Linked DNA regions of Homo sapiens: all the other regions are linked to region 1. The links are contacts of gene promoters, found by promoter capture Hi-C in blood cells and fetal thymus (Javierre and others, 2016). All regions are on one chromosome and are shown on one strand. The core of a region is centred on a gene start or on the middle of the fragment in contact, and the rest is flanking DNA. Distances in the headings are between cores, read along the strand shown.

What was found. The method cuts DNA at HindIII sites, captures the fragments that hold promoters and counts their contacts. A CHiCAGO score of 5 or more calls a contact.
Region 2: a fragment that was not itself captured here is called in contact with the fragment with the promoter of PABPN1L in region 1 in 3 of 17 cell types (endothelial precursors, M1 macrophages and erythroblasts); the score reaches 6.2 in endothelial precursors.
Region 3: a fragment that was not itself captured here is called in contact with the fragment with the promoter of PABPN1L in region 1 in 1 of 17 cell types (endothelial precursors); the score reaches 5.5 in endothelial precursors.

The regions. Positions count from the first base shown.
Region 1 is chr16:88,865,410-88,870,400 of GRCh38, forward strand. PABPN1L (PABPN1 like, cytoplasmic) reads right to left here and starts at 1,251. Exons shown (of 7, transcript NM_001080487.4): 1 at 943-1,251; 2 at 397-532; 3 at 154-221. The coding sequence starts at 1,197. The HindIII fragment of the contact is 14,417 bases long and covers 1-4,991 here.
Region 2 is chr16:89,095,546-89,100,536 of GRCh38, forward strand. It overlaps ACSF3 (acyl-CoA synthetase family member 3), which reads left to right. Exons shown (of 11, transcript NM_001243279.3): 2 at 3,046-3,218. Among named protein-coding and RNA genes, the nearest start is that of ACSF3, 4.2 kb to the left of the region's middle. RefSeq lists an enhancer at 310-479. The HindIII fragment of the contact is 403 bases long and covers 3,541-3,943 here.
Region 3 is chr16:89,043,844-89,048,834 of GRCh38, forward strand. No RefSeq gene overlaps it. Among named protein-coding and RNA genes, the nearest start is that of ACSF3, 48 kb to the right of the region's middle. The HindIII fragment of the contact is 1,575 bases long and covers 1,801-3,375 here.

The DNA.
Region 1 (4,991 bases), core at 1-2,500:
GCCCAGGCCAGTGTTTCCTCAAGGTGACGGGGCTGCCCCCAGGGTCAGACCCCCTTCCCAGCAAGGCTGCCTGGCCCATGGCCGGGCGCCAGACCCTCTGGTAGAGATGGGGCCCCATTCGCTGCCTGCCCCTTCACCCCGCCCACCACTCACGTTGCCCACGTAGACGGATCTGTGGTCAGCCTCCACCTTCTCCTCGGGGGTCCCAGAGAGGGGGCAGCCTGCGGAGAACACAGCTCAGGCCCGCAGGCCCTTGGTTCCTTCCTCACTCCTCTCACGGGGAAGGTCGCCCAGGCTTATAGGGGAGGTGACACCTTGGAGCCTGCCAGGCCCAACCTTAATGGAAACTGTGGGACCCTTGCTCAGTGGGGGGCGGCCTGTGCCCTTGGTTCCTACCCACGGTCTCAGGGCTCAGCAGCTGCCCGGCCGCGGTGCCCTCCTCTTCCTCGGCCTGTTGCTGCACTCCTGGAGGCCGTGGCGTCCCCTCGGCCTGCTCCATGGCACACACCTTCATCTTGATGGCCTCCAGCTCCTGCCGACACACGGCCCTGAGCCGGGCAGGCAGCCTGCAGGCTCTGCTCAAGGAAGGTGGGTGTGTGGCCTGCCAGCTCCAGCAGAGGGTCACAGCCCCAAGGGGCAGCCCTTCTCTGGACAGGGACACTCCTTCCTGGGGCAGCTGGCTGGGGATGAACTCGCCCCTGCAGAGAAGCCCCCGAAACCGCACCTCAAGGGCCCTTCCCCAGGCGAGAGAGGCCACCTTGACCCTGCAGTCTGTGTGGCTGGGGGCGGGGGGTCTCCTTGCCACCTTCGTCCAGGCAGGTGGGCAATGGCCCTCTCCCCTCCTAAGTCAGCTGCAGCCATCCGTCACCCAGACCCCGTGTCTCCACCAGCCCCTGTGCCCCAGGTCCCCTGAGATCCCCAGGGCCTCCACACAGCTGTTACCTGGTCAGGCAATGGGCACTCAGCCAGGTTCTCTTGCTCCAGCAGAGACAGCAGAAAGCCTGCATCCCCATCCTGGTCTTCCTCTGCATCCTCTTCCTCCTCTTTCTCCTCCTTCCCTTCCCCACCCTCTGGCCCCAGAATCTCCTTGGTCTCGTTCCAGGCCCCCCAGCCCTGGGCCTCAGGGTCTGAGGAGACCGTCTGGAGCCAGGCCTGAGTCGGGGGTGGGAAGAGAGAGCGGCTCGGGAAGGGCCACATGGTAGAGGGGCAGGAGGAAGGTGGGCCAGGCGAGGCCTCCCCTCCACTCCCCTCGCGTCCGCACCTGCCCAGGCTCTCCTGGAGTTTTAAGCCCTCCCCTGAGGCCAGCTGCTCCCACTAGAGCATTTGCAAAGGCTGAGTGGGGCTGAGCTTCCAGCCTTGGCTCCCGGCCCCGCCCCTTCCCTGTCACTCGGACAGGTACCTCCAGGACACTCTCCCTGGAGGAAGGAGAGGCTGAGTTGAGTGGGGGTCACCGGTCTCTTCTGCTTCCGCCTGGCCACGCTGTGGCTCACTGGAGCCTTGGTCTGTGACAGGGTTCACACCTCAGCAGCATCCACACGGCACGAACGCCACACTGCATGAACACTCGATCTAAGTGGGAACACGGGAGTGGTTTCTTCTAGTACCAGGGACCAAGCAGGCTGGAGAGGTGGCTTCCGACCAGGAGAGGCAGGGCCTGAGCAGAGACCGAGAGCAGGTGCATGGGATGAGAGGGCCGAGGCAGGTTGGGGCGGGGTCCTGGGCCCAGAGGAGGGGCAGCAACAGCTGTCTCTGCATCCTGACCCCCATGGAGTCCCCAGGGACCCTTGCCTCCCTAACCCTTATTCTGGGCCTTTTTTTTTTTTTTCTTTTTTTTTTAGGCAGGAGTCTTGCTTTGTTGCCAAGTCTGGAGTGCGGTGGCGCGATCTCGGCTCACGGCAACCTTTGCCTCCCAGGTTCGGGTGATTCTCCTGCCTCAGCCTCCTGAGTAGCTGGGATTACAGGCACCTGCCACCATGCCCAGCTAATTTTTTTTGTCTTTTTAGTAGAGACAGGGTTTCACCATGTTGCCCAGGCTGGTCTCGAACTCCTGACCTCAGGTGATCCGCCCGACTCGGCCTCCCGAAGTGCTGGGATTACAGGCGTGAGCACCGCACCTGGTCTGGGTCATCTTTTAGGTGGGAGCCACTTCCATGAGGCCAGAATTATTCTGCTGTGGGGCGGGGGCTCCGTGGGGAGTGACGGCGTGAGTTATTGTGGGGCGGGGTCTCCGTGGGGAGTGACGGCGTGAGTTACTGTGGCGGAATTCAGTGGGCATCCGGTGGTGTCTGCACCTGGCTTCACCCATGCAGGGTTGCAGCAGGAGGTGACCCGTGTCCGCCCTTGCGCCTCCCTCTGCACCTGCCACCGCGGCTGCTGGAGTCTGCTCTGGCCTTCATCTCCAGTGCTGCCGTCTCCCACCCACTCTGTGAAGGACTCGGGGCCAGGGGGTCATGCATGGCTCTTACCCCTGCCATTGGTGGTGGGAGACGGGGCCCCCTGCACAGCTCCTACCCCCAGGCCGAGGCCATCCTCTCTGTGACTGCACCCCGGTGTTTAGCCAGTGGGGCTGGGATTCCTGGGAATTTGGGACTGGGGGAGGAGAGAGAGACAGGGCGTGGCCTAGGCTGGAGCTGCACTGCTGCACCATGCACCACCCACGCAGGGCGGCCCTTCCTCCATCTTGGGCTGGGGGCTCGGGGAGCAGGTGGACATGGAGGCTGCCACAGCCTGGGAACCCAGGCTCCTGCACCCAGTCTGTTCTCACCTCTGTAAAAGCCAGAAGGTGTCTGAGATGGGTCTCAATCAATCAGTTTAGAGGTGTATCTTGCCAAGGTTAAGGGTGCACCCAGGAAAAAGAAACACGAAGCCACAGGCAACATCTGTGCTCTGCTTTTTCCAAAGAGGGTTTGGAGGCCGGGCATGGTGGCTCACGCCTATAATCCCAGCAGTCTGGGAGGCCGAGGTGAGCGGATCACTTAAGGTCAGGAGTTCAAAACCAGCCTGGCCAACATGGTGAAACCCTGTCTCTACTAAAAATACAAAAACAATTAGCCAGGCATGGTGGCGGGCGCCTGTAATCCCAGATACTTGGGAGGCTGAGGCAGGAGAATCACTTGAACCCGGGAGGCAGAGGTTGCAGTGAGCCGAGATCGCGCCACTGCACTCCGGCCTGGGCGACGGAGTGAGACTGTCTCAAAAAACAAAAACAAAAAAACCCAAAGAGGGTTTGGAGACTTTTATACTTAAAGGGAAAGAGCGGGCAGGAGGGGAACACAGGAAGGAAAGAAAAGGGAGGGCGGATAAAAGGCAAGTGGTAGCGTTCCTTTGAATCTCTGATTGGCAGTCACCAAATGCACATTTTGAAATGTGGAAGGTGGGGGTAGAGAAGAGAATTACGTAGCCCCACGCTCAGCGACTCTGCGTTTCCACAGAAGATAAAACTGCCACAGGGAATAGGAAGCTGGCAGGTTCGCATTCGCCTCCGGTGAGCGGAGGGTAACGTTAGCTCTGTCCTTTGTCCCATACCTGGGAAGATAAGCTGCTAGATCACACTATCTGGGTGGGATCCAGCAGAACTGTTTCAGAGCCAAGATCTTGGGACCCACAAGGAATTTCCCTGTAAGCGCGATGCGAGGAGGCACAGGCTTCTTCATCTTCGTGGCTGTCCAATTAGGAAGAAAATGGGAGGCAGGTGTGTGTGATTCGGCTCCCAGCTTGACTTTTCCCTTTGGCTTAGTGCGTTTTAGGTCCCGAAATTCTGTTTTCTTTTCCCACCTCCAGGAGGCTGACTGAAGACCATGCTGTCACCCCATCTGTTCACCACCCAGAGGATTTTCTGGGGCAGGCTCATGAGGTCGGGGAGGAATGGGCCTTGTCTGGAACCTGGCTATGGCCCTGGACGCCCCTTCCCCTCTCCCTGGCTCCGCACAGCCACACACTTACGTGTGCGTGGTCCCTGGACGCTGTTCCCCCTGCGAACACGGTGCCACTGTTTCCGGGAGGGCTGCCGGGCTGCTCCTCCTCCCTCGAGAGCCGCTGTCCTCACGCCTTTCCTGCTGTCCGTCCAGTGTTGATGACTTGGCCAGCTCTCCCCTTAGAAACCAAAGCTCCTCAGGGGCAGCGCCCACATCTGCACCGAGGACAGGTACGCTGGGTGGAGTGCGGCCTCAGCCTGGGATCCTCCTGTTGGGATGGAGCCCCCTGCCCCGTGTGTCTGTGCCTGTGTGTTGGAGGGTCTGCCAGCACCCGTGCCTCCACCTCCCTGTCAGAGGCAGGATTGCAACCAGTTCCATCCAAGACCAGAGTCTGCTGGACTCGGCCCAGGCCCTGACGCATGCCCCTCTGAGCTCGGGCCCCGGCCATGGAAAACCTTGTCATCCTCACCCTGTCTGAGATTGCTGACACACAAGGCCCGGCCAGGGCTCCTGCCAGCTGCCTGGCAGGGGACAGACGGCTCCGACCCTGGCCTTTCCAGTGACACTCTTCAAATACACCCTGTTCCAGAGCCGGGCCTGAGGATTCATGGCAGCCTGGCCCCTGGGGCCCCAGCGCCCAGGACAACTCCTATTCCAGACAGGATCCGTGTGTGACCCAACACCAGGGCCCCATGGGGGTGGCTGAGAGGGGCAAGCCGTCCCTTCCTGTGCTGTCCACCCTCAGGTCCCCTGTGTCCCCTCAGTTTTCATTTCTTTTTTTTTTTTGAGATGGAGTCTCACTCTGTTGCCCAGACTGGAGTGCAGTGGCACGATCTCGGCTCACTGCAACCTCCACCTCCTGAGTTCAAGGGATTCTCCTGCCTCAGCCTCCCAAGTAGCTGAGATTACAGGCACCCGCCACCACACCCAGCTAATTTTTTGTATTTTTAGAAGAGATGGGGTTTCACCATGTTGGCCAGGCTGGTCTTGAACTCCTGACCTCAGGCAATCCACCCGCCTCGGCCTCCCAAAGTGCCGGGATGACAGGCGTGAGCCACCGTGCCTGGCCTCCCCTCA
Region 2 (4,991 bases), core at 2,492-4,991, 230 kb after region 1:
CATCGGGGCAGCCGACAGGAGGAAGTGCCGGCATCCACTTCAAACACAAGGTCTGGGGGGGCGGGGGTGTCAGGTGTGGTGGTGAACAGGTCAGGTGTCGTTTTATTCATGTTGAAAGCAGCCCTTCATTTGAATGCGAGTGTCATTCTCATCTAGTAATTTTTGTTGCGAGGCTCCATGGGGAGCACCCTGCTGAGCACGGCGCGGCCGTTTGTCTTCTGCCTGGCCTGTGCCGGGCCATTCGTACATTCTCACGTGAAGCCTGTGAGGCAGGTCTTGTTACTGTGCCATCTTAGCGGTGGGAAGTGAAGGGCTAGGCCAGTGAGGAAATGAGGACAAAGGCAGCAGCCGTTCAAGTCGAAGCCTGTGGTGACTAACTCTGCCATTAACCAGCACTCCAGTTAGGAGGGAAAAGATGCATCCCGCTGCGCTGCATGTGTGTTCCCGAGAAGCCCCAGTGCCTTAGTGGTCTGATCTCAGAACCTGATGGCTAGAACACCGAGAGGTCCTGCCTCCCTCCCCGAGGGCTGGAGAGCCACTGTTTTCAGTGGTTCCAGTACGCCTTCACCAAGGAGGCTGTCCTGGCTCAGGCACCTTTCTCAGCTTCTGACTAGAGTCCTTGCCCAGCCACGTGGTGACGCCGCTGACCTCGGGTTATCAGGGTGCTGCGTAGCAGGGGTATGAAGCTGGCTGAGGGTGGAAGCCCCTGACTGAACTGCATTTGTCTGGTGGGCAGTGTCCCTCCACACTGTGCTCCTGGTGGTGATGGGGAGCCCCACGGTAGAAGGGGTCCCAGTGGTTGAAAGGTGAGGTTCTCTCTGAGGAAGCTGGGGTGCCTCTGGACCGGGAGGTGTGCAGGAAGACCGCGCACAGCCATCTGCCCTGAGTAGGCTCTGTCTGCGTGTTCGAGGCAGGGCTCTGATCCGATGACCGTGAAGATTCAACCTCTGTGCTGAAGAGAACTGATGACTGGGCACTTCATTGTCCCAAGCCTGAGGGACTGAAAAGCTGGTTTGATGGGGCTGGTTCCGTTTTCCACATGCTTGGTGGGAGAATAAATCAGCACCTCGTTGGAGGGGACTTTGTCAGTATTTCTCAAAATTAAAGATGACCCAGCAATGTGACTTCCCGGCATCTGTGCCCTAGACACCCCGAGTGAACACAGCTGTAGGTGCCAGGACTCCCCCCTTCCCTCGGCCGACTCTGGCTAGGCCAGGCCCTTCTCACCCTCCATAGGAAGCCTCCCCACCAGGCCCCCGTCCGTTCCTCCTGCCCGTGGCCTCTCCTCATAGCGCGTGGGCTCTCTGGGAGCTGGGACCATGTCACACGGGGCCAGTCACATCTGTCACCTCCCAGGGGCTGGTGGCAGGAGTGCCCACCCACAGGCAGCGCTCTGGATTCCGCGCAGGAGAACAGCAGTTTCTTCTCAGCCTGCACTTTGAGTTTGCCCAGCCCAGCTGTGCACGTCAGCATCACCAGCTCTGCTGAGCTCTGGGTTTTGTGGGGAATCCACTCTTATTCTTCCGTGGCTTCGCCCTGCGGGGTGACTCAGGAATTTGTAGAAATGCCAAAAGGGGGGCTGTGCTCTGGTAGTGTGTGCTGTGTGTGCTCAGCGTGTGGTTAGCGTGTGCTCAGCGTGTGGTTACCGTGTGCACAGCACGAGCTTGAACTCGCTTTGTCAGAACTCGGTTCTTTGTGGTCTGCAGAAACCTTTTCTGAGCAGCAGCTTTAGTTAGAGGGAAGCCGTCATCCCCCTTTTATGTGCTTCTGTCATATTGAGAAACAGCTACACACAATGACAGGCACCTTCTATATTGAGTGAGTGTCGCCGGCCGTCCTAGTGCTCCGCTCCTTAGCACCCCAGAAAGCACCGTCCCCTGCTCCGAGCACCCAAGGCACTCCCTGTGGCTCTCAGCAGCGGAAGTCTGGCCTCGGGGCCGTAACCCAGAGCACCCAGTGCCCAGTCGGTTTTCTGTGTGTGGATTCTCCTTGTTTCTGTGCCCTCACACCTGTAAAGCAGTGCAGGATCGGTTGGAAGTGAGGAAGGAAGCGTGGTGGGGCCGCCCTGGTTTGCTGCTTTCTGAAGCTGGCACAGCCCACGTGCCGATCTCGTGTCTTGTGTCTGGTGAAGCCCAGTTGTTTTCTTGCCATTCTCTGGGTTTCTCTATGGTAGCAGAGTCCAGGTGTGTGGGCGGACCAGCCACTGCCCTGCCTCTGAACAGCTGTGGAGGGCTTCTAGAACATGGGTGCCTCGCGTCAGGAGATGATGTGGCCTGCAGGACTGACCGTTTGGTAGGATTCAGAGAAGACTCACACAGGACGTCCAAGCAGCCCGCGGAGCTGTGCTGAGGTTCAGGGCCCTGCGTGGCTCGTTTTCCTCCTGCCTGGGCCAGAGGCAGGAGATCCCTCAGCTGGCTGGGACAGGGGACTTCATTAAGAGCCCCAGGCTACCTGGGAGGCGGAGCTTGCAGTGAGCCGAGATCGTGCCACTGCACTCCAGCCTGGGTGACAGAGCGAGACTCCGTCTCAAAAAAAAAACAAAAGAGCCCCAGGCTAGTGGGGAAACCAGACACCCAAATCAAACAAGCAAAAACCAAGGCCAGTAGTTGAGGGTCTCAAGCACAAAACATACTTTGGCTCTGACAATTTTCATTGTCATGAAGTTTGTTTTGTTAGACAACTATGAAGTGTTGTGACGGTTTCAAACTAAGAGCAGAAAACAAAACTGTTTAGTACAAACCACAGACAATAACACAGTAGCTTTCCCCTCACAAGTTAATGAAAGAGATGTGCTGGAGAGAGAGAACCTGCTGAACATGGGCACAGATCCCACAGAGGGGGCGTGGTGTGTGGGAGGAGACTCGACAGGGTCATGGGGTCACTGCTGCCCGTTGTCGGGAGATAAGGCTCACAGCTTTATTTGATAATGTTGTCTTTAGCTTGTAAATGAACATGCTTCCCTTCCCCCATTGAGTGTTGAGTGTTGTGCCTGTGGGAAGCGTTATACACACAGCCTGGGACCTCAGCACAGATGCCCGTTGACAGGTGTCCCACCGGCCTTCCGGGTTCCAGCGCCAGGCCTGGTGCCTGCCCCAGGAGGATGAGCATTTGCATTGCCTGCACCTTATCGTGCCCTTCCACCTGCTGAAGCAGCTGTGCCTGCCGCTCTTGTGAACTGCGAACTTCCCCTTACCTCCTCTCTCTGGCTCGGGAGCTGGGTGAGTTTGAACTTGGCCTCCTTTGCTTTTCTGTGTGCGAACAAGTGGTTGCCTTGTTTGTTTACTGAACAGAGTGTGGTTGAGGCAAAATGCTGAGATGAAACCTAACCTAATATGTGTGTATTAGACGGTAGCATCATTGTCAAAATAATACTTGTTCAAAGTCCCTGAAAACCAAACGGACAACTTGACTACGCTTCGGCCACAGGCCTGGGACGCTGTCAGACCGAGGGCCGCTGAGTGCCCAGTGGCAGCAGAGCCCAGAGGGTGCTTCCCCCAGGAAGGGAGGCAGACCAGCCTATTCTTACTGTGAGTCGAGCAAAGCTTTGATTATAAAGGGCCAGGGATGCAGGAGCCTCGTGGAGAGTGCCACCCCTTCTTCTCGCTCTGGAATGCGGGGGCTGTGCCCCTGGCCTGTGTCCGCATCCTGGGGCGGTGTCCCGTGGGCAGTGTCCTCTGGCTGCAGAATGCATGTTGCAGAATTGGACCAGCCCTCACGCGTCAGGAGCGTTGGGCCCACAGGCGGAGGCACCCTGGCTTCTTCTCGGTCTCCTTTCTCTGAATGAAGAATTCCAGTGGACGGCGGGCCCGCGCGACCCCTCCCAGGGAGCCCTCGCTTCCTGCTGATTTATTTGTTATTTAGTAGTTAAGTTTTTGGGGGGAAAGGAGAGAATTATAGTTCAACCTAAAACACGTTTTCTAGCTCTGTGAATTGCCTGATTTAAAGCTTGGCTTGGCTGGGTGCAGTGGCTCACACCTGTAATTTCAACACTTTGGGAGGCCAAGGTGAGTGGATCACCGGAGGTCAGGAGTTGGAGACCAGTCTGGTCAACATGGTGAACCCCTCGTCTCTACTAACAATACAAAAATTAGCCAGGCATGGTGGTGCGCACCTATAATCCCAGCTAGTCAGGAGGCTGAGGCAGGAGAATCACTTGAACCCAGGAGGCGGAGGTTACAGTGAGCCCAGATCACACTACTGTACTCCAGCCTGGGTGACAGACCAAGACTGCATCTTAGATAGATAGATAGATAGACAGAGCGGGTGAGACTCCATCCCAGATAGATAATAAAGAGAGAGAGAGAAAGGAAAAAAAGGTGAGAGAGAGGAGAGAGAGAAAGAAAAGAAAAGAAGGAAAAAAGCATGGCTTACACCTGCCATAACCCCAGGACTTTGGACCAGCCTGGGCAATACAGTGAGACCTTGTCTCTACCAAAAAAAAAAAAAAAAGCTGGGTGTGGTATCACATGCTTGTGGGCCCAGCTACTCGGGAGGCTGAGGCCACAGGATGGCATGAGCCCAGGAAGTCGAGGCTGCAGTGAGCCATGATTGCATCACTACACTCCAGCCTGGGCGACACAGCAAGACCCTGTCTCAAAAAAACGAACCTTGGCACCTCACCACATTTCCACTGCGCACCAGTGTGGGAAGGGTCTGAGAGAGGCAGCGCCGTGTCTGCCCCGGGGGCGGGGTCTCCAGGCCATGCCTGTTGTGAGCGGGGGCTGTGCTGAGCTCTTCTCTGCACTTCCCCCTCTCACGGGTGGTTTTCCAGGCTCAGGATTCTAAAACCCATTATTCAGATGTACCTTAAGTGTGTTGAATTTTATATGCTTCTCCTTGGTTTTACCTAGTTTATTTCATTGTTTAGAATTTTGTGTGGTTTGGGAATCCTTAAACTCATGAAGTGAAATAGAAAGCTGAGATGCTGGGCACGTACGGAACGTTCCAGCAGTGTGGGTGAGAAAGGCTGGACGTGGCCTGTCTGGTGCGCT
Region 3 (4,991 bases), core at 1,338-3,837, 180 kb after region 1:
TCCACCATCCGAGCCCTGCACAAGCCTTCCCGACTTCTGAGACCTCACAAGCCCTCACTCAAATCGGGTCAGGATAAATGGCCCAGACTCCCCAAGGGTCTCTGGTGTGGCCCTAGGCCCCAGGACCTTCCAGTCACCTGCACCCTCGCTTGGAGAAGCATGCTTACCCTACAAGGCCCAGGGAAGATACCACCTCCTACAGGAAGCCTGCCTTGACTCCCCCAGTGGACGCTTACTCTCCCTGACTCAAAGGTTCTGCAGGACCTCACCCTCTGCCGGCTGCCCCTGTCACCCTGGTGTGGGGGCAGCGTGTGTGCCCCCCCTCTACCCAGCACTGTACTGATGCCCGATCTGGGGCTGGGGGAGCATTGTGGAGAAAATAGATGAACACTGTGGATCCAGGTGTCTCTGGCTCCTGAAAACTGCAGGTGAGGACCAGCCGAGGAGGGCGTCCCCAGCAGCCCCTGTCCGTACATGTTTGGCACCCAGACAGCCCCCATGTGGTCCTTGCAAAGAAAGGGGGCTGTGGCTGAGCCCAGCACATTGTGTGCAGGGACCGCCCTGGAGTGGACGCAGCGGGAGGGCTGGCCGCACCTCCCATGCACACCCTCTCCCCCAAGCCCCAGACGCGGAGCAGGAAAGAGTTAAGTCCTCTGTGAGCAACTGTGTGAAGGAAGTGGTAAACAATTTTTCTCTCCCTCGGCTAAATTAATATGCAAATTCCCAAGCCCCCCTCCATTCCCTTCCCCTGCCTTGAAATTAGCGAGGTAGAATGCTTGGGCTAATTATGCATTCAAACGAGCAGGCTGCGTTCGCCCGGCACTAAGAAGATGCGGAAAATGATTGTGAGAAGATGGAATTGACATTCGAACGCGGCCCTCCCAGTGCATCTGGAGCCACTCTCCTGCATCCAGCAGATGGAACCCGGCAGTGACCGCCGGCCACCCCCTGGCCCGGGAAAGGGCTGCAGCAACTAGCAGTCGGCTCTGCACCCTGGTCCAAGGTGAGGGAAGAGGGGGGCCCATGAGCAACCATCTAGACCCCCTTTTCCCCACTGCGGAACCCCACGTTGCCAGCCTGGCACATAGAGCTTCCCCAGGAGCCTTTGGTGCTCATATCCAGAGGTCAGAACCTCAGATGGGGGTGCTAGGGTGAAGGCCATGGCAGGCGGCAGGAGCCACAGAGGCTGGACTGGGTCCAGACAGGCGGCCTCAGGCCAGCCGTGTGAAGCAGAGCCTGGAGCTCTGCCAAGGGGCCTCCATGCAGGGCGGGTGGGGGCGGCAGGGCACTTGGGACCCTCGCTGCAGCCACCCTCACCACCAGCCCCGACAGCCACGGCCCCTCCCAAGCAGATGTGCTATAAATTGCCATTGTAAGTAAAATTTTGCTTCAGAACGGAGTTTCTCTGCAAAGTCGGAGTTTGACTAAGAGGGAAACAGAGGCCAGAGGCTGCCTGGCATCAGAGATGGGCGGGGCCAGTAAGGAGCAGGCAGGCTCGGGAGCCGTGACTCTGAAAGCTAAGACGGGCCAGACTGGAACCCTTTCTCACAGGGCCTCGCTCTGCATTTACTGGAGAAACCCAACCTTCCTGCCTGTGGGGGCCTGTCCTACCCCATTCTTCCAGCCACCTCCTACCACACGACACAGGAGCCCTCAGTTTGCACACCATGGGGCCCTCTCCTGGCACGTCCTCTTCCTCACCTCTGTCTCAGGTAACCAGTCTCAGGGCCCTGTCCAGACCGACTGCCTCTGCCCAGCCTTCTGTCTCTCCCCTCGCTCCCTGGGCCACTGCTCTTGTGAAGCTTCATGAGGCCTCTTTTATTCTTGTGGAGCATGGACGCTTAACATTCCCAAAGTCCAGCATGTCTTTCCCACTTGTCTCTAAACACCTGCAGGACACAGCTTTGTGCTGGATCTCTGGAGCACCCATGGCACCTGGTCCTGACCTTAGCTTTCTTAAAGACCTGTCCATGGGGACGCTGATGAAAGGATTGGTTAGGCAGCCCCCAATCTGCTAGACATGCTATTTGTAGCTGCACATGAGAAGGAGGCTCCTTTTGGAAATGTGTGCCCAGCACTTCCGAGGAAGTCCTGGGAGGATCCACACACTGATCCAAGTCCACTCACGCTGCAAGCAGCAGCATTATCATCACCATCATCATCATCCCCACCATCACCATCATCATCATCACACCATCATCTCCACCATCATCATCACCATCATCATCACTATCACCATCACCACCATCCCCACAGTCATCACCATCCCTATCATCACCATCATCATTATCCCCATCCTCACCATCATCATCATCACAACAATCCTTACCCGTTTTCTGGGCATTCACTTGGTACCAGACATCATACAGAAAGGTTTAGACACAGGATCACTTTGAATCTGCACAGCTCTTTTGAGGTATGTACTATTATTATCGTCAGTCTACAGATGAAGAAAGTGAGGTCCCTAGCTAGTGATAGAGCCTGAACTTGAACCTAGGTCCTTCTGACACCAAAATTCCAAGTTCATAGCTCTATATTCTTCTCCCCATTTCCTCATGGACATGCCTTCCAGTGAGGGGACAAAGACCAAAGGAGTGGCTCATCCAAGCATAAATGGAGACCTCTGAGGCCAGAGCTTAAGTCACGACCTGAGGGGTTTAGATTAGACTAAACCCAAGACTTTCAAATAATGTGTGTTTTTAGTTCTCAGAATAACCAAGAGGAAGTGTTTTAGCAACTACAGAGATTCTTGCCTCTCCCAGAATGTGTAAAGACCAGCAGGCTGATGGATTGTGGGTGAGTCAGACCCAGCCCGGTGGCCTTATGGTGCAACCTGATAGGTGTGCCCTTGCCAGGCAGGCCGGCAGGTAGGTCAGGGGCCTGGGGTCTCAGGACGTAGAGACTGTCCCTGCCCTCAGTTGGAGAGGACTGCAGACCCCTTCACTCCCTGACCTGGAGGAAGATGTGTGAGTCTGGGCTGTGGGGGTCACAGAAGCAGCAGGTGGCCTGTCTGCAGGTCCTAGGCCAAGGGCTGACTGGGTCCGGTGACATCCTTTGTGCTGGCGTTAGTTTCCCTCTCTATCCAAGGGCTGACTGGGTCTGGTGACACACTTTCTGCTGGCCTCAGTTTCCCTCTCTATCCAAGGGCTGACTGGGTCCAGTGACATCCTTTCTGCTGGCCTCAGTTTCCCTCTGTATCCAAGGGCTGTGACTGGGTCAGGTGACATGCTTTCTGCTGGCCTCAGTTTCCCTCTCTATCCCATTAGAGTGTTGGACTAGATATTCTCCAATGACCCTTTTCTTGCCTAAAGTTTTGTCATTCCAAGTGCAGAATGCTGTTAATTTGTCCATCTGTCCATCCATCCAAACCCCAAAAGCTTTCACTGGAGGTGTCTGAGTGCACGGCCCTGACGTCTGAAGGAGGCGCAGGTCTAGAAGACATAATGCCAGAGCGGCCCTCGTACCCACAGAGGAGAAGCAGAAGCTCAGAACCTATGGCCAAAGCAAGACACAGGCGGGGAAGTGCCATGTCCTCAGAACCCAGGAGTGCCGGTGGAACAAGCACCTCCGCCCGCCTCCCACCTGCTTCCTTCCTGCCATCCAGGGAGAACAGCCCTGGTTTCCAGGTAGAGGCATCCAGAGCTTCTGTGCCAGCCCCAACGGCCACACAGATGGATGATGGTGTTAAGTACTCATCAGCTGCAGTGAGGCTCCTGGAGCCGCCCATGAGGATGTAAGGTGCAATGTGCACCTCGCTCCTAACACCCAGGGCAGACGTTTGTCAGTGCGGGAATGGCAGGCGGGGGAGGAAGGCAGATCGTCCCGAGGCGTGCATCTCGAAGCCACCTACAGTGCTCATCAACAGGGAGCAGCAGCTCTGAGCAGCCCAGGAGTGGGTGCCAGCCGAAGTCAACAGGCAGGCGGGTAAATGCGTCCCAGCGCGGGGAGGGCTTGGAGAAAGGCCTGGAGCGTGACCCCTGCGTAAAGAAGAAAAGTGGCCGTTCTAGGAGAGGAGCAGTGAGACCCCAGGCTTTGTGGCGGGATGGGCCCCAGAGCACATTTTGGGGGCCTGGTGGGGTGATGGCAGCTGAGACAGGACAAGGCCGCTGGACCCCACAGGCAGTGGCCTCGGGTCTGAGGGAGGCTGTCCCAGTGGCCACCACACCTGGCCAGGCAGGGCCGTCAGGTGGGACCTAGGGGTGGTCACTGACTACTCTGGGCAGGCGCCTCCAGGAGGGGAGGGGAGTCCCAGCACCTGCTCACTTCACTTCCTGGAACCGCCTCCCGCCTGGAGGGCCGGCGCTGCTGGGGGCCAGGGCTGGGATGCTTTGTCCCTCCACGGGGACGGGGACGTATGGCCTCGCTGATTCTCCGCGCAGCCGCTCATTCTGGTGCAGCTGCCGCGCCGCCCTCCAGGCGCTGGGTAACTCCGGGCTGCAGTGCTTCTGCACATTAACACCATTTGTTCCGTGGAACGTGCTTTATTTCCACACCACACGCAGAGCTTATTACCCCGCCAGCAGCTCAGGGAGCAAGACGGCTGGGACCTGGGGAGGCGGAGGGACGACGCGGCCCAAGCCCCCTCCCCCCGCGCGTCCCAGCCCACTGCCCGCATGGGGGAGGGGCACTGGCCGGATCCCTGGGCAGTGAGCTCAGGAGGGCTGGGGCGTCCCAGTCAGGGAGCTGGTTCCCGGGAGGGTCCTCGCTGCTTGTGTGGCCCTGGTGACGATGCCGGGGCTCCTGGATAGATGCGCCCAGGCAGCTTCTTTTCTGGCTCTGCGGCCTCAGGGAAGCAACATGGCCTCTCTGAACTTCTGTCTCCCGAAATGTGGAGGCTGAGACTGTCTCTGTGAATGGTAGGGTAACTGTTTCCCTGCCACTGTAGGTGACAGTTAAGGTCGAGATGACCGCTAAAGACAAAGGCTTGACCCAGAGGCCAGGAGCAAGGGGGCGCGGGAATCACAGAGACTGGGGCAGCCCTAGATCCCCCG